Regions from separate parts of the Homo sapiens genome. Here region 2 is linked to region 1. The links are contacts of gene promoters, found by promoter capture Hi-C in human tissues and cell types (Jung and others, 2019). All regions are on one chromosome and are shown on one strand. The core of a region is centred on a gene start or on the middle of the fragment in contact, and the rest is flanking DNA. Distances in the headings are between cores, read along the strand shown.

What was found. Contacts are between HindIII fragments. The study calls those that stand out against the background at their distance.
Region 2: a contact is called between a fragment that was not itself captured here and the fragment with the promoter of PRSS33 in region 1, in 1 of the 25 tissues and cell types used here (aorta).

Annotation. Positions count from the first base shown.
Region 1 is chr16:2,784,513-2,790,415 of GRCh38, reverse strand. It overlaps PRSS33 (serine protease 33), which reads left to right and starts at 2,856. Exons shown (of 7, transcript NM_152891.3): 1 at 2,856-2,883; 2 at 3,812-3,914; 3 at 4,295-4,327; 4 at 4,455-4,617; 5 at 4,770-5,041; 6 at 5,245-5,414; 7 at 5,614-5,903. The coding sequence starts at 3,869. The coding sequence ends at 5,772. The HindIII fragment of the contact is 27,852 bases long and covers 1-5,903 here.
Region 2 is chr16:3,827,191-3,833,093 of GRCh38, reverse strand. The region is part of intron 2 of CREBBP (CREB binding lysine acetyltransferase); the gene reads left to right. Among named protein-coding and RNA genes, the nearest start is that of CREBBP, 51 kb to the left of the region's middle. The HindIII fragment of the contact is 3,192 bases long and covers 833-4,024 here.

The sequences.
Region 1 (5,903 bases), core at 1,607-4,106:
AGCTGGGCGTGGTGGCGCATGCCTGTAATCCCAGCTACTCGGGAGGCTGAGGCAGAAGAATCACTTGAACCCGGGAGGCGGAGGTTGCGGTGAGCCGAGATTGTGCCACTGCACTCCAGCCTGGGCAACAAGACCAAAACCCTGTCTTAAAAAAAAAAAAAAAAAAAGAGTAGGACCCTAATCCAATAGAATTCGTGTCCTTATGAGACGGGATTTGTTCCCTTGACTGTGACCCCCTTCGTGGGCAGGAACTGGAGTGGCTCGTTTCACTCAGCTGTTGTTCGTGGATGGCTAAATATTAACAGTTCAGTGAAGGGTCAGGGTGACAGCATCCTGCACCTGCCCTTTTTGACACCCGAGTTCTTGTTCAGTGTCCAGGAAGAACCAGGTCACATGAGCTATTTGGAAGGTAGTGCATGCGGAGGATTTCAATGGGTGATAAAAGTGGCTGTCAGCAGGATGGGGAATTGATGCGGAAGGAAGGTGATCTTTCCCTGAAGTCGCACCATCTGAAGTTAGCCGCATCTATCCACAGCTAAAGCTCAGCCGCATGTATCCCCAAGGCTCAGCAGCTTGTATCCCTGCTGGTCAGCTGCTTGTGTTGCTCTTTTCTTCCTTTTCTTCTGCCATCTGGTCTGGTTTTTACCGGTACAGGTTAGGGGGCGGGGTGGGCCAAGAAGGCAATCATTTGGGCAGAAAAACAGGGTCAGATGTTTTCACTTAGGGCTGGGGCTCCAGGCTTGAAGGTGGGAGCCCAGCCGTTCTGTGTCACTCATAAGAAGTGACAAGAGTGCAACCTGTCTCTCTCCCTCCCCTCATGCACACAGAGGCCACGGAAGCACACAGCAAGATGCAGGCCACCCAACAAGCCAAGAAAAGTGGCCTTAGAATGAAAACTATGTTACTGGCACCTTGATCTTGGAATTCCCAGGCTCTAGAATCATGAGCAATACATTTATGTTGTTTAAGCCCCCACGGCCGGGCGCAGTGGTTCACGCCTGTAATCCCAGCACTTTGGGAGGCCGAGGCGGGCGGACCATGAGGTCAAGAGATCAAGACCATCCTGGCCAACAAGGTGAAACCGCGTCTCCACTAAAAATACAAAAAAAAAAAAAAAATTAGCCGGGTGTGATGGCGCGCACCTGTAAATCCCTGCTACTCAGGAGGCTGAGGCAGGAGAATAGCTTGAACCCGGGAGGTGGAGGTTGCAGTGAGCCGAGATCACGCCACCGCACTCCAGCCTGGAGACAGAGCAAGACTCTGTCTCAGAAAAAAAAAAAGAAAGCCCCTTCGGCTGTGGTTTTTGTTTATGGCAGCCCAAGCGGACTCCTACAGGGACACAGACCCAGACCCTGATGCTGGAGGGGAGACAAGAGGATGTAAATCAAACCTCCTCAAGTCCCTGTCAAAGGACAACTATGGGCTGGCCTCGGTGGCACATGCCTATAACCCCAGCACTTTGGGAGACTACAGCAAGAGGATCTCTTGAGCCCAGGAGTTCGAGAACAAGTTGGGCATCATTGCAAGACCCCATCTCTGGAAAAAAAAATTGCTAGGTGCTGTGGCATGCACCTGTGGTCCCAACTACTTGGGAAGCTGAGGTGGCAGGATCACTTGAGCCCAGAGGTCAAGGACGCAGGGAGTTGTGATTGTACCACTGCACTCCAGCCTGGGTGACAGAGCAAGACCCTGTCTCTCTCTCCCTTTTTATTTTTTTTTGAGACAGAATCTCACTGCGTCGCCCAGGCTGGAGTGCAGTGGCATAATCTCGGCTCACTGCAACTTCCACCTCCCGGGTTCAAGCAATTCCTGTGCCTCAGCCTCCCGAGTAGCTGAGATTGCAGGCGCCCACCATCAGGCCTGGCTAATTTTTGTATTTTTAGTAGAGACGAGGTTTCACCATGTTGGCCAGGCTCGTCTCAAACCCCTGACCTCAAATGAGCCACCCATCTCGGCTTCCCAAAATGCAGGGATTACAGGCATGAGCCACCATGCTTGGCCAAGACCCTGTCTCTTTAAAAAAAAAAAGAAAGAAAAACAAAAAAAAAAAAAAGGAAAAAAGTACAACTATGGCAGGGCTGCAAAGGAGGCAGGAGGAGGTGGCAGAGCAGAAGGCTGAGGGATAAGAGGAGTTCACTATGCAGAGAGGGACTTGAGAGACTTCTAGGCAGCGAACACTGTGTATGAGCCCAAGAGGGAACTACAGGGCCCTGGACCATCCGGGCCCCGGTCCTCCACGGGCCTCGAGAGAAGGGGAGTTCCTGTCCCCTGACCCCAGCATCTTGCTCTGTCTCGGCCACCCCAAACCAAAGACTGCACTGGTCCCCAAGGTCAAGTCTCCCCCTGCCTCTGGTCAAGTAAGGAGTGCCACCAACTTTGAACCAGTCCCTTTCCACCTCCAGCTGCTCCAGACCCCGGATCTGGAAGGGGGCTGGCCATGCTGGGGTCTCTGGGTGGAGCTGTCTGGCCAGGACTTCCGTCTGAGATGGGATTTCTGGACAGAACAATGGAGCGCAGAAGCTCCAGCAACGTGTGCTCTGCAGGGAGCCCAGGTCAGGTTTGGAGAGGAGTTGCCCCGGATCCTGCAGAGCTTCCCCACCTGACTGCCACCCCTCCCAGCACCTACCCGCACCACTGCTCTCCGCCAGCCCCCACTTCTAGTACCTTGGCGCAAGGCAGGCTTCCTTTGAGAAACCCATTGACCCTTTCCTGCCACCTCTGAAGCTCTGCTCAAAGCATCTTTGTTTGAGGCTGGTCCGGTAAAGCCACAGCCCCGCCCCGGCCCTGTTCATTACTCCTTGGCTGAGCCTCGCGCTCTCCTGGCACTTTAAGCCCCCAGGCCCTCCCTCAACCCCAGTCAGCAGAAGGCGCCAGGCTGTGAGGGTGAGAGCAAGCCAGGGGCTGTGGGGGCTGCAGGGGCAGCCAGTGGGTGAGGATGAGGGTGAGGACGAGGAGGGGTGAAGGATGGGGGAGGGGGTGAGGATGAGGGAAGTGGTGAAGATGAGGGAGGGGAGTGAGGAGGAAGGGGGTGAGGATAGAGGAGGGGGTGAGGATGAGGGAGGGGGTGACGATGGGGGGGTGAAGGATGGAGGAGGGGTGATGAGAGAGGAGTGAGGATGAGGGAGGGGGTGAAGGATGAGGGAGGGGGTGAGGATGAGACAGGGGTGAGGATGAGGGAGGGGGTGAGGATGAGGGAGGGGAGTGAGGAGGAGGGGGCTGAGGATGGAGGAGGGGGTGAGGATAGAGGAGGGGTGAGGATGAGGGAGGGGTGAGGATGAGAGAGGGGTGAGGATGAGAGGTGAGGATGAGGGAGGGGGTGAGGATGAGGGAGGGGAGTGAGGAGGAGCAGGGGTGACGATGGAGGACGGGGTGAGGATAGAGGAGGAGGTGAGGATGAGGGAGGGGGTGAGGATGAGAGAGGGATGAGGATGAGGGAAGGGGTGAGGATAAGGGAGGGGAGTGAGGAGGAGGGGGGTGAGGATGGAGGAGGGAGTGAGGATGAGGGAGGGGGTGAGGATGAGGGAGGGGGTGAGGATGGGGGAGGGGGATGAGGGAGGGAGTGAGGATGACCGAGGGGGGTTAGGCTCCAGGGCTTCTGTCGAGACCAAGGATGCCCAAATATCTGGGTGGTGGGTGCTGCATACCTGGGCCCTGGGCAGAACGAAGGGTATACAGCCTGGGCCACCAGGATAAGTCCAGAACCCACCAGGAGCTGAGGACAGACAGAAGGACCACGGAGGGGGTGACGGGCTGGTGTGAGGATTGGTGCCCCTGGGCCAGGACTCTCCTCTCTTCTCCCTGCTGGCTCCAGACCAGAGTCCAAGCCCTAGGCAGTGCCACCCTTACCCAGCCCAGCCTTGAAGACAGAATGAGAGGGGTTTCCTGTCTCCAGGTCCTGCTCCTTCTGGTGCTGGGTGAGTGGGGACAGGGACTGGGGGTGAGGGCCGCAGACACCTTGGCTCCCAGTTCTCCCATCTCACTGCTCCCTGGGCCGGGCTCCCTGGAGCACTCTTGGGCTTTCTAATCTTGATTCCAAGGGCTCAATCCTCTCTGCCACTGACCTTGACCTCACCACACCTCGATGTGCTTGTCGGTGTCATGCTCATACGCCCTTGCCCCCTGCACCTTCACAGTGCTCTGGGGAGGGTTAAATAAGATAACAGACGGCACGAAAGCCTGGCGCAATGTCAGGGCAACATTGTTTCACCCTCCTTCCTCATCTCTGGCCTCCCCTCCAACTCCGTTATTTGACACCAAATCTATAATCTGGTCCCTTCCCTGCTTCCTCCTCCAGGAGCTGCTGGGACTCAGGGAAGGAAGTCTGCAGGTGAGGAAGCCTCGGAGTCCACCCGAGTCAGCCCCTCCTGGACCTCGGCCCCGTGTCTCCCCACCAACACCTGCCTCCCAGGCCCCAGGTCCTCAGCCAACCCTCACCGCCCCTGGTCCTTTTCTAGCCTGCGGGCAGCCCCGCATGTCCAGTCGGATCGTTGGGGGCCGGGATGGCCGGGACGGAGAGTGGCCGTGGCAGGCGAGCATCCAGCATCGTGGGGCACACGTGTGCGGGGGGTCGCTCATCGCCCCCCAGTGGGTGCTGACAGCGGCGCACTGCTTCCCCAGGTCAGCGCTCACCGAGGGCCCAGGCGGGGTGTGCAAGGAAGGCAAGGCCCGCAGAGGACCGGGCGTGGCCTGGCAGAGGCGTTGGGGTCGAGGCGGGCTGGAGGGGGTCGAGGACCCGGTGCTGGAAGTAGTCCCCCGCTCCTGTCCTGCAGGAGGGCACTGCCAGCTGAGTACCGCGTGCGCCTGGGGGCGCTGCGTCTGGGCTCCACCTCGCCCCGCACGCTCTCGGTGCCCGTGCGACGGGTGCTGCTGCCCCCGGACTACTCCGAGGACGGGGCCCGCGGCGACCTGGCACTGCTGCAGCTGCGTCGCCCGGTGCCCCTGAGCGCTCGCGTCCAACCCGTCTGCCTGCCCGTGCCCGGCGCCCGCCCGCCGCCCGGCACACCATGCCGGGTCACCGGCTGGGGCAGCCTCCGCCCAGGAGGTAAGGCAGGAGGGCGGGGCTCCGAGGCATCCGGGAGCCCCCACGTCCTCCTCCATCTGACTGGAAATCCCAGCCCCTCACTGCCCCAATCCAGGACCCAGCGCGGCTTCTAGGGAACAAAACCTCCTCTCACTCAGAGCTCAGCTTCTCCCACTGGCCCCCGCTCCACGCCTTCCTCTCAGAGGTCCCTCCTCTTCCCCCAGTGCCCCTCCCAGAGTGGCGACCGCTACAAGGAGTAAGGGTGCCGCTGCTGGACTCGCGCACCTGCGACGGCCTCTACCACGTGGGCGCGGACGTGCCCCAGGCTGAGCGCATTGTGCTGCCTGGGAGTCTGTGTGCCGGCTACCCCCAGGGCCACAAGGACGCCTGCCAGGTGTGCACCCAGCCTCCCCAGCCTCCGGAGTCCCCTCCCTGTGCCCAGCACCCTCCCTCCCTGAACTCCAGGACCCAGGACATCCCAACTCAGGCTCAGGATCCTGGCCTCCAACCTAGAGGCACCACGCCAGGGGTCTGGAACCCTGAGAACTGAAGTCCTGGGAGGGCTGGGACTTAGGCTCCTCTTTCTCCTGCAGGGTGATTCTGGGGGACCTCTGACCTGCCTGCAGTCTGGGAGCTGGGTCCTGGTGGGCGTGGTGAGCTGGGGCAAGGGTTGTGCCCTGCCCAACCGTCCAGGGGTCTACACCAGTGTGGCCACATATAGCCCCTGGATTCAGGCTCGCGTCAGCTTCTAATGCTAGCCGGTGAGGCTGACCTGGAGCCAGCTGCTGGGGTCCCTCAGCCTCCTGGTTCATCCAGGCACCTGCCTATACCCCACATCCCTTCTGCCTCGAGGCCAAGATGCCTAAAAAAGCTAAAGGCCACC
Region 2 (5,903 bases), core at 1,179-3,678, 1.0 Mb before region 1:
CCTTGTCTTATTCATGATCTGTGGGAAAAAAGCATTCAGCCTTTCGTTAAGTATAATGTTAGTTGTAGGCTTTAGGTATCATTCATTAGGATGAGGAATTCTGTTTCTAGTTTGCTGAGTCTTTTGATCATAAGCGATTACTGAATTTTGCCACATCTTTTTTCATTTATTGAGATGAATCATAGGGTGTTTTTTTTTTCTTTGAATGTGAATTACGTCTTTCTGAGTGTTGAACCAGCCTTGCATTCCTGTGAGATAACCCCACTTGATTGTGGAGTGTTATCTTTTTTATATGTTACTGGATCAGATTTATTAAAATATTGTTCAGGATTTATGCTTCCACAGTAATGTGCTACATAACGAATTTTGGTCAGCAGCAGACTACATATACAACAGTGGCCCCTTAAGACTATAATATATTTTTACTGTGCCTTTTCTATGTTTAGATACACAAATACTTACAATTTTGTTACAGTTGCCTCCAGTATTCAGCACAGTAACAAGCTGTACAGGTTTGTAGCCTGGAAGCAGTGGGCTATACCATACAGCCTAGGTGTGTAGTAGGCTACACCATCTAGGTTTGTTTAAGTACACCCAAAGTGTAAGTTCCCACAGTGACCAGAATCACCTAATGACACTTTTCTCAGAAGATGTCCTTGTCTTTGGGCGAAGCATGATTGGTATATTCATGAGTGATATGGGTCTATAACTTTCTGTTTTTTTGGAGTGTTCTTATTTGTTTTTGATAACAATAATATACTGGCTTCATGAAGTTACCTGGGAATTGTTCCCTTTGTTCTGAAAGTTCATTTAAGATTAGTATTATTTATTCATTAAATGTTTGATAAAATTCACCAGTGAAGCGATCCAGGTCTGGAGTTTTCCTTGTGGGAAGGTTTTAAAATTATGATTCAGTTACTTTAAATTTGAATAGCTAATAGGTATTAGCTATTCAAATTTTCTGCTTCTTGTGCTAATTTTGGTAATTTGTATTTTTGAGTAATATATCCATTTTAAGTTCTTGAATTGATTTGGCATGAAGGTGTTCATAACATTTCTCTACTCTTTTCTTTTTTTTCTTTCTTTTTTTTTTAACTGAGTCAGAGTCTCACTCCGTTGCCCAGGCTGGAGTACAGTGGCATCATCTCAGTTCACTGCAGCCTCCACGTCCTGGGTTCAAACAGTTCTCCCACGTCAGCCTCCCAAGTAGCTGTGCTTACAGGCGCACACCACCATGCCTGGCTAAGTTTCGTATTTTTAGTAGAGGAGGGGTTTTGCCATGTTGGCCAGGCTGGTGTCGAACTCCTGACCTCAAGTGATCCGCCTGCCTCAGCCTCCCAAAGTGCTGGGATTATAGGTGTGAGCCACCATGCCCGGCCTCTGTACTCTTTTCTTAATTTGGATAGAATTTATAATAATGTCTGGTGTGCTCTCTTGTTTTTCTCTCATTGATCTAGGTTGGGGTTTGTCCATTTTATTAATATTTTCAAACAGCCAGCTTTTGTTGTTGTCAGCCTTTTCTTGTTTGTTTTCTATGTCATTTATTTCTGTCTTTATTTTCTTCTGCTTATGTTGGCTTTTCTTTGGGGTAGAAGTTTGTATCACTGGTTATTTAGACTTTTCCAATATTAACATTTGGGCAATAAATTTCTCCTTAAACCCTATGCATCTTTTTTATTTCCCCATTTCTTTGAATCCTTTAAATCCATAAACATAAAAAAGTACCCCAAATACTGTTGTTAATTGCATCTCAAATTTTAATACATTTTTTAAATTAGTTTAAAATATGTTTATATTTTACATGTGATTTATTCTTTGACCCATGGATTATGCTGAAGTGTGTTTAGCTTTTAAATATTTAGGAATTTTGCAGATATTTTATTGTTGGTTTTTAACTCCACTGTGTTCAGAAAACATGCTTTGTATGGTGGTTGTCCTTTGAAATTGAAGACTTGTCTTACGGCCCAGCAAATGGTTTTTCTTGACAAATATTCTATCTATACTTGAAAAGAATGATCAGGCGCAGTGTCTCATGCCTGTAATCCCAGCACTTTGGGAGGCCAAGGCGGACAGATCACTTGAGTTTTAGACCAGCCTGGCCAACGTGGTGAAACCTGTCTCTACTAAAGGTACAAAAAAAATTAATAGCCAGGCTTGGTGGTGCGCTTCTGTAGTTGCAGCTGCTTGAGGGGGCTGAGATACAAAAATCGCTTCACCCCAGGAGGTAGAGGTTACAGTGAGCTGAGATCGCGCCACTGCACTTCAGCCTGGGTACGGAGCAAGACTCTGTCTCATAAAAATAGAATGTGTATCCTACAGTTGTGGGATGTGATGTTTCATAATTGTCTATTAGAATAAGTTGGTTGATGGTGTTCAAATCCTTATGATTTTTTTGTTCTATTGGTTACTAAGAGAGGATTATTAAAATCTACAATTACAATTTTAGGTTTGTCTGGTTTTTCATTTAGTCAGAACAAAATGTAAGTACTTGTTTCATGTGTTTTGAAACTGTTTTATTAGGTTAATATGTATTTTGGATTGTAATGCCTCTGGTAAATTTAGCCTTTTATCATTATGAAATATTTGTTTTTGTTAATATTCTTTGTCTTTATCTCCTTTTTCTCATATTTAATGTAGACTCCTTATGATTAGCATTCACATTTTTTTTTCACTCTTTTTGTTTTGTTTTGTTTTGATACAGGATGTCACTCTCACCTAAGCTGCAGTCCAGTGGCGCAGTCTGGGCTCCCTGCAACCTCTGCCCCCCACCCCGGGTGAGGTGATCCTCCCACCTCAGCCTCCTGAGTAGCTGGAACCACAGGCACACACTACCACGTCTGGCTATTTTTTTGTATTTTTAGTAGAGACAGGGTTTCACCATGTTTCCCAGGCTGGTCTCAAACTCCTGAGCTCAAGCGATCTGCCCACCTCGACCTCCCAAAGTGCTGGGATTACAGGCATGAGTCACCACACCCAGCCCACTCTTAACTTTGTCTCTTAAGTATGTCTCTTGTAAGCAGCGTAGCATTAGATCTTATTTAATTTATTCTGATAACCTTAGTCTTTTAATTGTAGTGTTTAGTTTATTTATATTTAATGTTGATAATTGTTGGGTTTAGGTTTCTCATCTTATTTGTTTTCTGTTTGCTGCTTCTGTGTTTTGTTCCTTTTTTTCTCCCTTCCTGCTCTTCTTGTAGAGGCAAATTCCAACATCTCTGTCATCTCTGTATCTGTTTCATTTACAGTCTTGTTTGTTTAAATATAGAATTCCTGGTTATGGGTCACATCTTCCTGCTCCTTGGCATGTCCAGTACTTTTAGACTGTGTAGTGGAAATGGTGGATGATAATGTTGTTGAATATGGGTTTTATTGTCCTTTATTAGTTTGTTTTGTTCTGGCAGGCTCTTAATTACTCAGATCAGTTTGATTCTCTCAAAGCTTGTTTTTAAACTTAACTTAGGGCAGGTCTTGAAGCCCTGTTCCTTAGACATGGCCTTGGGGTCTCAGTTTAATTCCTGGGATGTTCAGCAAGATCTTGAAACTCCGACTGATCAGAACTTCTATGTCTCTAGCACTGTGCCACCTCTGGAATCTGTTCAATTCACAATTCCTTCGTAGTCCTGCACACTTAGTTACAGCTCCAGTAAGCCCTAGGAGGTGTTGGTGATGTGATTGTTGTGTGTGGTCGCACTGGGAGATACTCTCCATTTTAATGGTGTGAACGTAACATTATGATATATAATGGTTGTCCCGTAGTGACTGTGTATTTCACACTTTAAACGTTATCTCTCATCTTCTGAATCGTCTGAGGATTAAGTTCACTGTAGAAACTTGGGAAGTGCCACATCTAACATTCTTAATGTAAATGGGTCCAAATCATAACTTCAAGGACCAACTTTTCCAAAATATTTTTGCTATATTTTAAAAAGAGTTATATTTATACAAATTACCATAGACAGTAATTTGCTGTCCATCTGTCACCAAGTTAAAATATCTAAGGGTTTTTATGTTGATTACCATGTAATTTTTTTTTTTTTGCATTTTTCAAAATTATGTATATGACTATAGCATAAAATTTCAGTGTGATCCAGGTATGAGCAAGGATAACAATTACTATATTTATTCTTCCTGAATAACAGTAAGAGGAAGAGCAGAAAAGGACATGCCTATTGTACTGGGCACTGTGCTGGGTGCTTTGCAAACATGATCTTGCTTTTTCTCATTTTTAATAATCCTGTGAGGTGGGTGCCATATGTCTTTTATAACAAGGAGTAAAATATTCTGAACCACTTTCCTGCCTATGCAGAAAATTATTCAAGACGACACATGTTTGAAAGTGGTAGAATTTTACTTAAAATCCACCTGTGATTGACTCCAAGCCTGTATTTTTTTCGACTGCATCATTTTGTCTGTAATACAGCTGTATTCAAACTATGATGGTGAAATACATAAGACCTTATTTTCTGTGTGTGGGTCAGGTTTTCCCCCATGCACGAAATTTATAGAACAGGTAACCTGGAGAGTGAGTCTAATTTCCCAGGAGTATTTTTGTCAAATGAAAGAATTTACTGCTTATTCCTTTTTAGAAACATACCCTTGTATGCTGTAAGCTTTGCCTGTGGTCTGATTGGGTTATGGCTCTTAATCTGAAATACTAATTCAGCCAAGCAATTTTTGTAAGACCCATAAAGAAGTCAGCTTTCGACGGGCATGGTGGCTCACGCTTGTAATCCCAGTACTTTGGGAGGCCGAGGCGGGTGGATCACCTGACGTCGTGAGTTCGAGACCAGCCTGACCAACATGGAGAAACCTCATCTCTACTCAAAATACAAAATTAGCTGGGCATGGTGGCACATGCCTGTAATCTCAGCTACTCGGGAGGCTGAGGCAGGAGAGTAGCTTGAACCCAGGAGGCAGAGGTTGCGGTGAGCCGAGGTTGCGCCACTGCACTCTAGCCTGGGTGACAGAGCGAGAGACTCTGTCTCAAAAACAAAACAAAAAAAAAAGAAGTCAGCTTTTCTGGCTAGAAAAATGTGCCTTGGCCTATGTGCAAGAGGCCAGCATAATTAATTTTCTTAAACATTATTTTTTAAAGTGATCTTGGCCAGGTGCAGTGGTTCACACCTGCAATCCCAACACTTTGGGAGGTTGAGGCAGGAGGATTGCTTGAGCCAAGGAGGTTGAGACCAGTGTGGGCAACACAGTGAGACTCCATCTCTACAAAACATTTTAAAAATTAGCTGGGTGTGGTGGCACGTGCCTATAGTCCCAGCTACTCAGGAGGCTGAGGTAGGAAGATCACTTGAGCTCAGGAGGCCGGGGCTGTAGTCAGCCATTGTTGTATCACTGTACTCCAGCTTGGGCTACAGAGAGACCCTGTCTCTAAAAAAATAAAAAGTAAGTAGCCAGGCATGGTGGCTTATGCCTGTAATCCCAGCACTTTGGGAGGCTGAGGTGGGTGGATCACGAGGTCAGGAGATCGAGACTATCCTAGCTAACTAGGTGAAACCCCGTCTCCACTAAAAATATAAAAAATTAGCCGGGCGTGGTGGCGGGCGCCTGTAGTCCCAGCTACTCGGGAGTCTGAGGCAGAAGAATCTCGTGAACCTGGAAGGGGGAGGTTGCAGTGAGCCGAGATTGCGTCACTGCACTCCAGCCTGGGCAACAGAGTGAGACTCTGTCTCAGTCAATCAATCAATAAAATAAAAAGTAAGCAAGATCACTTTTTGAAAAATATTTTTCTTACATTATGGTAGCAAGGAAAGGTTTGATTTTTATGTTCTGAGTTTTTTAAATTTTCAACACAAGAACAAAGGATAGTATAACCAACATCTGTGTTTTCATTAGAATTAATGCCTGTTGATACTTATCACATTTCCTTCATAGTTTTTTTTTTTCTTTTC